Regions from separate parts of the Homo sapiens genome. Here all the other regions are linked to region 1. Evidence: promoter capture Hi-C in 16 types of primary human blood cells and fetal thymus (Javierre and others, 2016). All regions are on one chromosome and are shown on one strand. Each heading gives the region's core, a stretch centred on a gene start or on the middle of the fragment in contact. The rest is flanking DNA. Distances are from core to core; before and after follow the strand shown.

Evidence for each region. The method cuts DNA at HindIII sites, captures the fragments that hold promoters and counts their contacts. A CHiCAGO score of 5 or more calls a contact.
Region 2: a fragment that was not itself captured here is called in contact with the fragment with the promoter of EML5 in region 1 in 1 of 17 cell types (fetal thymus); the score reaches 10.5 in fetal thymus.
Region 3: a contact is called between a fragment that was not itself captured here and the fragment with the promoter of EML5 in region 1, in 2 of 17 cell types (non-activated CD4 T cells and activated CD4 T cells). The highest score is 6.2, in non-activated CD4 T cells.

What each region holds. Positions count from the first base shown.
Region 1 is chr14:88,791,375-88,794,378 of GRCh38, reverse strand. It overlaps EML5 (EMAP like 5), which reads left to right and starts at 1,426. Exons shown (of 44, transcript NM_183387.3): 1 at 1,426-2,072. The coding sequence starts at 1,876. RefSeq lists silencers at 1,286-1,645, 1,836-1,915. The HindIII fragment of the contact is 21,479 bases long and covers 1-3,004 here.
Region 2 is chr14:89,939,775-89,942,937 of GRCh38, reverse strand. The region is part of intron 3 of EFCAB11 (EF-hand calcium binding domain 11); the gene reads left to right. Among named protein-coding and RNA genes, the nearest start is that of EFCAB11, 13 kb to the left of the region's middle. The HindIII fragment of the contact is 1,862 bases long and covers 439-2,300 here.
Region 3 is chr14:89,961,779-89,964,695 of GRCh38, reverse strand. TDP1 (tyrosyl-DNA phosphodiesterase 1) reads right to left here. Exons shown (of 17, transcript NM_018319.4): 3 at 1,023-1,588. The coding sequence starts at 1,581. Among named protein-coding and RNA genes, the nearest start is that of TDP1, 7.3 kb to the right of the region's middle. RefSeq lists an enhancer at 621-1,820. The HindIII fragment of the contact is 1,634 bases long and covers 753-2,386 here.

The DNA.
Region 1 (3,004 bases), core at 177-2,676:
ATGACATCTATGTAAATTCCTTTCAGATGGCCTTTATTTCCTGCATGTAAACTGCTTGCAGATTAGAAGTCATAATCAAAGACGAAACGGTAATCCTGTCTCAAGTTAGTAACTGGCATCTTTGAGGAAGTAGACATTGGATAACATCTATTCCAATATATCTGTACCACACAGGAGTCAACCCCTTTTGGAGTCATATTTCTTGAAACGATGGTAGTTTATTTTAGCTTTTGTCAGATTTCTGTCTTGGTATTTCCTATGGAAATCAAACAGTAATTTTTAGACAATAAGGGTTCATATTGGTATATCCTGAATTAGTATTTTTTTGTTGTAAATCTTGTGGCCATCCTGAACTTAACACTTTTTAAATTGTGGATTTCCAATTATTTTTAGAGGTATTGATAAATCTTGTTCATATTCCTGTGAGAAGAGGACACAACTGAGTAGGAGGGGAAATGACATAGTCAGGAATTGATTGTTCCCAATACTTTTATTACAGGAGTTTTCTACAGGATCACAATTGAATTTATTTAATTAAGAGTAACTGTTGGTGATGTCCCAGTCATTTTTAAAAAAATCGAAGTACAATTTTTTTTTTTTTTGCTATTCGGAAATCAGATCTCACATGTCAGTTTACCATCTAAAGTCTACCTTCAGCTTTGCGGTCACTTAAGAAAACATACACTTAGGACCAGGAGCAGTGGATTGGGCCTGTAATCCCAGCGCTTTGGGAGGCCTGAGGCAGAAGAACTGCTGAAGGTCAGGAGGTGGAGACCAGCCTGGGCAACACAGCAAGACCCCCGCCTCTACAAAATAAACTTAAAAACAAAGCAAAACATTTGCCGGGCATAGTGGTACGCAACTGTACTCCTTACTACTCCGGAGACTGAGGCGGGAGGATCGCTGGAGCCCAGGAGTTGGAGGCTACAGTGAGCTGAGACTGCGCCACTCCACTCCAGCCTGGGCGACAGAGCGAGGCTCTGTTTCTAAAAATAATAATTTAAAAGCACATTTAGGAAGCTCGGCATCATTCCAATGTCTGGGTCCGAAAGCACTATAAGGCAGCAAGACACACAAGGTATCAAGCGTAAAAAAGAGAATTTAGCATCCCGGTGTGGATTTTCCCAGGCAAAAACGTGGCCTACGCTGGGTGCAGGGACCGTGCGGAACCGGCAGGTGCTTCCCGGTTGAGGACGCAAAGCAGCGGGAGCCCGGGGTCGCCGAGGGTCCGCCTGGGCTTAAGCAGCTCAACGAGGGAGGGCTCACCGGCCCGCGCACTTGCAGAGACGCGGTCCCAGCGACTCCGCAACTAGACCGTGGCCCCGCGAACTCCAGCCTCTTCTCGGCTCCGGGAGGGGCGGAGTGAGCGCGGGAGGGGGCGGGGCCACGCAAGGCCGCGCGCCCGCCGCTCGGCTCGGCTCGGCTCGGCTCGCTCGGTTTCGGGGTGCGCGGCGCGGGTCCGCCAGGCTGTGGCTACAAAGCCGCGGCGGGGCGCGAGCGCCGCAGGTGACCGGGGCTGGGAGCTGCGTGCGCGGGCGGCGGCTGAGGAGCTGGAGGCGGGCCCTCGCTCTCGGCCCAGGCGCTACGGGCTGAGGAGACTAGGCGAGCCGAGGCGGGCGAAGGGCTCTGGGCATCCACTTGACAGCCGGCGGCGCTCGCGGCCCTCAGCATGTTCCGCGAGGCGAGGGTTTTCCTCCCGCCTGTGGGCTGAGGCGGCGGCGGCCCCCGAAACGAGATGCACCTGACGGGCGCGGCTTAGAGGACGCGGCTGGCGGGAAGTCCCGGCAGCCAGCGGGAGGGCTTTCGTTGCCGGGCCGCCGCCGCCTCCCGTCGCCGCCGCGGGCCCGAGCGGGAGCGGCGGGTGGGCGCCCCGACATGGCGGCCCGGAGCGCCCCGAGCTGCCACCTGCGGCTCGAGTGGGTGTACGGCTACCGGGGCCACCAGTGCCGCAACAACCTCTACTACACTGCGGCCAAGGAGATCGTATACTTCGTGGCGGGGGTCGGCGTGGTGTACAGCCCGCGGGAGCACAGGCAGAAGTTCTACCGGGGCCACAGCGACGACATCATCAGGTACCGGGGAGCGGGGGCCGCCGCCGTCACCCTGCAAGCCGCTCCCGGAGTTTGCACCCGCGGGTTCCTCTGGACGCCGTGACCGCTCCTGCACGGAGCATCACCCCGAGGGGAATCCGCAGCTGTCTCTCTGGTCCCGAGTCCACCAGTTAACACCCTACAAATGCCTTTCCCCTCTTCCTCGTCTAGGGACTCTCTCTCGGGTCCGTGCAGGAAGATCAGGTCCGCGGATCCACCGGGCACCCGGTTTGACGGCTTTGTCCCCTTTCCCACTCCATCACAATTACGAAAACTGCGAAAAGGTTATTTTGGTGGCACTTTATTCCGTTAGATCCTGTGAGAAATTTCTTATTAAACGCATTCTTAAAGCACCCGGGGTGGGGGGAAACCCTTTACCTAATAAAGGACTGATGGAAGCACAGCAAGCGGTGGGCTGCTCCCGGGGAGCGCGCCCAGGGTGGCGTCCTGAAGGGCTCTCACCTCCTGGCCGTAATTATTAGTTCAGGTTTCACCGCCTGCTATAATCAGCAGAAACCCCAGGCAACCTCCAGGCAATTCACTGGATGTTAAAATGTGCACACCTGAAGGCAATTTAAGGTAGGTCTTATCTGAAGAGGCTGCTGAAAACTTCACTGATTTCCAGTTCTCTTCATCTTCATTAAAATACTCCTAAATAAGCTACTTTTGTATTTTCTTAAAATTAAATCGCTATTGGGGGGCTATTTTTAGTCTTCCTTGGACAATAACTCAAAGTTGGTCCCAGAGCTTGTTGACATTTCTTTAGTGAGCGGTATATTTGAAATGTAATTTTCAATCAGTGTCTTAGTACAACTTTTATGGTAAAGTCAAGAGCTTCAGAAATCATTCTAGGCCACTGATTATTGCCTCAAGCACAGCATTTTTTGTCCTTTACAGAGGAAAATATATTAAAA
Region 2 (3,163 bases), core at 120-2,619, 1.1 Mb before region 1:
CCCAGGCCCTGCTTCCCAAGGGCTTCGAATCCTCTTGAAAAGTAGGTCATTTCAATAGAGATTTCCTCGTGAAAATTAAGAAGAGTGAAAAGTTAAGTCAAAGCTAGTAGAAATAAGAGTAAAGTATCTGGAAGAAGTGTACATGCTGGGAGAATTTGAGGGCAGCCAGGGTGAGTAGCAGAAAGGTGCTAATGATGTTTTTATTGCCTGTAACCTAACAAGCAAGTGAATATAAGCAAAAACTGTTGTGGCTGCTTGAAACAAGGAAATATATGAGTGGGAGAAAAAAATCAAGCCATTAGTTAAAGGAAGCGGCAGATCACAGTTGAGGTTGGTTCTGATTTATAGTCTTGCTACCTCTTTCAGAGGGTTTCATTATAACCCTCATTCTCTGTGATGCACTTCATAACTTTTCCAAGTGTATAGAATGAAGAAGCTTGCAACTAGAAGAGACCTGGAAAACAGTCATCTGTCCTTATTTTAAAATGAGGAACCTAGGCTTCAGAGAAGAATCACAAAATGATATAGAGGAATAATAAAATAATAAATACTTGGCAAAATCCTTTTACAGTATTTATTATTATTATAGATAATTGCAGCAATCATTTCCTGAACAGTTATCATGCAGATCTGTGATGAGCACATTCATCTGTGATGATTGTTATATTTAATGTAACTATGATATTATGATTATCCTCTGTATTAGTCCATTTTCACACTGCTATAAAGAACTACCTGAGACTGAGTAATTTATAAAGAGGTTTAATTGACTCACAGTTCCACAGACTTAACAGGAAGCATGACTGGGGAGGCCTCAGGAAACTTAGAATCATGGCAGAAGGCAAAGGTGAAGCAAAGACCTTCTTCCCATGGTGGCAGGAGAGAGAGAGAGTGAACGGGGAATTGACACACTCTTTCAAACAACCAGATCTGGTGAGAACAACAAGGGGGAAGTCAGCCCTCATGATTCAGTCACCTCCCACCAGGCCCCTGCCCTGACAGGGATTACAATTCGAGATGAGATTTGGGTAGGGTAAGGACACAGAGCCAAACCATATTATCCTCATTATATTTTATTTATCATTTTAGATGATTATTTTTGAGACAGGGTCTCTAACTCCTGGGCTCAAGTGATCCTCCCACCTTAGCCTCCCAAAGTGCTGGGATTACAGGCATGAGCCACTGTGCCTGGCTATCCCCATTTTAGAAGTTAAAAAACTCTGGCCATTCATGGCGGTATGCACCTATATTCCCAGCTACTTGGGAGGCTGAGGTGGGAAGATCACTTGAGTCCAGGAGTTTGAGACCAGCCTGGGCAACAGAGCAAGACCATATCTCTGAAAAAAAAAAAAAGTACTAAAAAGTTTAAAAATAAAAAATAAATAAATCCAGAAGCCTAGCAAGATTAAATAATTTGCCCAGAGTGGCACCGGTAGCTAGTAAGTACCAGACCAACGTGATCCGACCTTCTAGCTCACCCTCTTAACCAATTGATGAGCCCTTCCTTTGATTTTTAATAGTGCCATGGGTCATACTCCTAATTGTGACAAAATCGAGGCCAGTATTCATTCCCCTAAGGAACTTTATGAATCAATGAGTTGAAGTCAGGAGTAGAATCAATACACGAAAAACAAATCACCATGTTCTCTATAGTTGTTAGGCATTAATTTCAAATTTGGTTCTGGACTACCTAGCATCCAGAACAAATAGGAAAACACGAGCAAGCACAGCTGCAGTCAGGGTCCATGCAACAAAACAATTTTTCTAGAGAGGCATAAGTCCTCCTGCCCTGGGATAGTTCTTCTGTGATGTCTCATGGAGGGGAGGCTGCTGAGTGGATGTCAGTGTCGATGAGCTGTTCAATAAATGCAGTAGTGAATTTTGTAAGGCTGTTGCTTCATCTTTTCTCAATGTAGACCAGTGTTTAATGTCAGGGCAATTCTATGAAGGGCAAAGGCTGTGTGTTCCAAGTATACATATCTCAGGTGGTCTGACTTTATTCCAGAATAAATTGTAGATCATTCTATATAAATAACAACAGCTAAGATTTACAGGGCTTTTCTTTATGCTAAAAGCTATAAATAAGAACTGAATGAGCATTGTCCCACTGAATCCTCATACATTTGTCTCTTTGTTATTATCTCGGATCTATGTAAAATATGCCTAAGATTAAAAACCAGAAAAAAGGACTTCAGAATTTTGTTTTCACTAGGCGATTAGATTGAGCATCTTTTCTGTTTCCTTATACTATTGCCATTTTAAATTAATGAACATATTCTACTTTGATACTTGAAAAAGCTTTCCAGGAACTTACTTTTAACCCTCAACTTTGAATGATGGAAAAATCAAAGCGATTGATTCATCATAGCAGTAATTATGGACTGTGTGACTGCTATCCAGTGTAAGGTCCAATTGAAAAATAATTTGTGGATGAGTAGGTTAATGGTCAGTTGGCTTGCATGCTTTTATTTATTAATATCTTGTCTGGCTTGTTCTAAACAAGACAGTTGACTATTAAAGGTATTATTTTTCTAAATTTAAATATCCTTTTTCTGGTCTTAGTTTCTGTCATAAAACACCTGCTGTTGTGTATGGTTTTTTATTTTGGCTCCTATGGAACAAAGATCAGGGTATAGCAGGGATGAAGGTTTTGGTTGATTTCAGATTTCAATTGGCTTCTTAGTTCTTTTCTATAATCAGGAAACTGCATACACATTAAGGTTACCTTATTTTGAAATTATAATCGTAGCATTTTATGGAATCTCCTACAGATATTCACCCATCCATGTTTATTTAATTACCCATTTAGAAAACAGTGAATATGTTTCACTATACAGATGGGGAAGAATTAGGAGACACAGACACTGACCTAAAGACATTTAAAAATATATATTTTATGTGGGCTGGGCACGGTGGCTCACGCCTGTAATCCCAGCACTTTGGGAGGCCGAGGAAGGTGGATCACGAGGTCAGGAGTTCAAGACCAGCCTGGCCAACATGGTGAAACACTGTCTCTATTAAAAATACAAAAATTAGCTGGGCGTGGTGGTGGGTGCCTGTAATTGCAGCTACTCCAGAGGCTGAGGCAGGAGAATTGCTTGAACCTGGGAAGCGGAGGTTGCAGTGAGCTGAGATCCCGCCACTGCACTCCAGCCTGGGCGAT
Region 3 (2,917 bases), core at 320-2,819, 1.2 Mb before region 1:
AGTACCAAGATAAGAGATTCTCAAAAAGAAAACAACCTGTAGAACACTCTACAGTATGAAATACTCCAACATGTATACATCACACACAATATACAATTATATACTGGATATATAAAAAAAGAACAACACTGCTGACAGTGAACATTACTATTCTTAAATATGGGACAGGAAAAAAATCTGAAATAAGGGTAATAATGTTTATTGTATCTGCCATGTGAATATATTACACTGGTTACTTCATATATTTGCTCCCATTTTTCTGCATTTCCAGTTTAAAGATGAGCAAACTAAAATTCAGAGAATGTTAGGTCCTGTGTTAACAATCCATACAGCAAATGAGTGGTGAGGCCAGAAAGCAGATTCTAGAGCTCCTGCTCTTCCTCCTGCAGGTGCTCCCTGAGGAATAAGGAGAGCAAACTAAGGCCATCTTTTGATCCATAACTGAAACATCTATTTGCACTCAGGCACTATTTTGTTTTTTCTTCTTCTTCTTCACCAGGAACTAAAACCAGGCTTTTAAGCAGTGGTTCTCAAACTTGACTGGGCAGTAGAATCCCCTCAAGGGCTCGTGAAAACACAGACTGCAGGATCTCACCCTCAGAGTCCAATTTAATGAATCGGGAATGGGGCCCGAGAATTTGCATTTTAACAAGTTGCAGGTGATGCTGAGGCTGCTGGTCCAGGGCCCATGGAGAACTACTACTGTTGTCAAGTATTTGCTACCTTGTTGATAAACTGTTACTCATCAAGCTTCATCTTAAAAAGTTAAATAATGCTAAACATCGTGCTAAGTGATATAAGGGGTTGAGCTACAGGGTTTTGAGAACACACGCTCTGCCTGAGTTAAGTAAACAGTCTGCTGTTATACTAATGCACTTGCCTGTCAAGAATTTTTTTCCTGAAAGTAGTTAAGAACACAAAGAAGAGTTCTCAGAAACTATTCTAGGCTGCCCTCCTTGTTTCACGGAGGAGAGACTCTCAAGGGCAATTCAACAGCTCCTTGACACCCAGCATCCTCTTACCCTTGATGTGGAGGGCTCCAGAGTTATACTTTGGCTTAACTCCAGAGACTCTAGTGAGGTAAAACTGGAAGGGGTTCCCTTTATCCAGCATGTCCCAAATGTCCTGGCCCTCCCCTGATGTCTCATACTCGTCTTCCTCCTCTTTGAGCCTGTGGCAGGCGGGAGCGCCATGATTTTCAGTTCTTTGGGCAGTGCCGTCATTGGGAGCAGAGATGTCTTTCTCCTTTTTGATCACCACTTTCTCAGCCTGCTTCTGCGGCATTTCTGGTTGCAGCTCATCATCACTGCTGGACAGACACCAGCCGAGGTCCTCCTGGGAACCGCTTTTCTGCCTTTTGGGAGGTAAAACTGAATCTGTATTGCTGAATTTCACAGGTGATATTTTCCTCTTGTGTGCAGCTTTCTGGGCCTCGGAACAGGTGTACCTGGGCTCATTTGCTGCTCCTTGCCTGGCACAGAGAAGAGAAGAGGTAGATGGCTTGTCTGGTTTTGGCTTTTCTTCCTCACTTTCATCACTACTAGATATGGTCCACCTCCCATAATCGCCTTCCTGAGACATTATACTCCTGGAAATGAAAAGTGGAAACATCAGCATTTCCCATTCATCAGGGCATTGGCAAAATAACTTTATTGCTCTCAACTTCCCTGTCAGATGAGCTGACACCTTCCAGAGGCTGAACCACCTAACATCAGCTGCTTTTTGGGTGTTTATAAGCACATTACCAGAATCCACTATCAGATTCTGCCAAATCACAAGCAAAAGTCCTGGTCACCTTTCTTTTTTCTTCCTTTTTTTTTTTGAAACAGGGTCTCGCTCTGTCACCCAGCTGGAGTGGTGCAGTGGTTCAATCTCAGCTGACTGCAACATCTGCCTCCTGGGCTCAAGCAATCCTCCTGCCTCATCCTCTCGAATAGCTGGAACTACAGGTGCACGCCATCACGTCTGGCTAATTTTTTTTTTCTTTTTTTTTGGTAGAGACAGGGTTTCATTATTGTTGCCCAGGCTGGCCTTGAACTCCTGGACTCAAGAGATCCACCCACCTTGGCCTTCCAAAGTGCTGGGATTACAAGTATAAGCCACCATGCCTGGCCTTGGCTTTCAATCTAAACTTTGTTCTTAGATGTCCTAGGAAAGGGGGTTGAAGAATGCATCAAGACAAATGCCAAAATAAAACAAACATTCATTCTTGACCCCGAAACTTCCAATAAGCGTTTGGGATTAAGGTCCATTTAATCTATGTTCAAATGCTTAAGGTCAAATTGGAATTTACAAACCTAGCCTTCACCCAAGTACAGGCACCCACAGGACTTCAGTGATTATGTATGTCTTACTTCCCAAAAGACAACCCATTTACCATAAAGCTTAACAAAGTCTTCAAGAGGAAAGCCAAATGACCACTTAGGTATGTACATTATTTACACTACTTCCATGAGGACCCAACTAATTATAATTAGTTGGATATAATTATATCAAGATATAATTATCCTATTGGCTACATCATAAATCTACTAACACCTACACAGAAATAACTTGTACTGAAGCAACACACTTTTATTTTTTAAGCCCCACAGTCAAATTCTACTTTCTTGTTCTGAGAACAGGAAAGTACACGAAACAGTCACTTTTGCTGTTACCTACCAAATCTTGTCAATTCAGTGGTAAAGGACTATCTAAGTAGACTTTCCAGACAGCTAAAGAACAGTTCCTCAATGTGATACTTTTAACATTTTAGCACAAGACCCAGGGGAAAATTACAAAACTCAGTAGTCTGTGCTCAGATCAACAGTATCTTCGAGTTTCTGCTGTTTTAATGAGGCTGGAAAAGATGCATTGAGTGGAGTAAACCAAGATGGTGACACTCCCTTCACAAAACCTACATTCCCCAAAAAAGAGA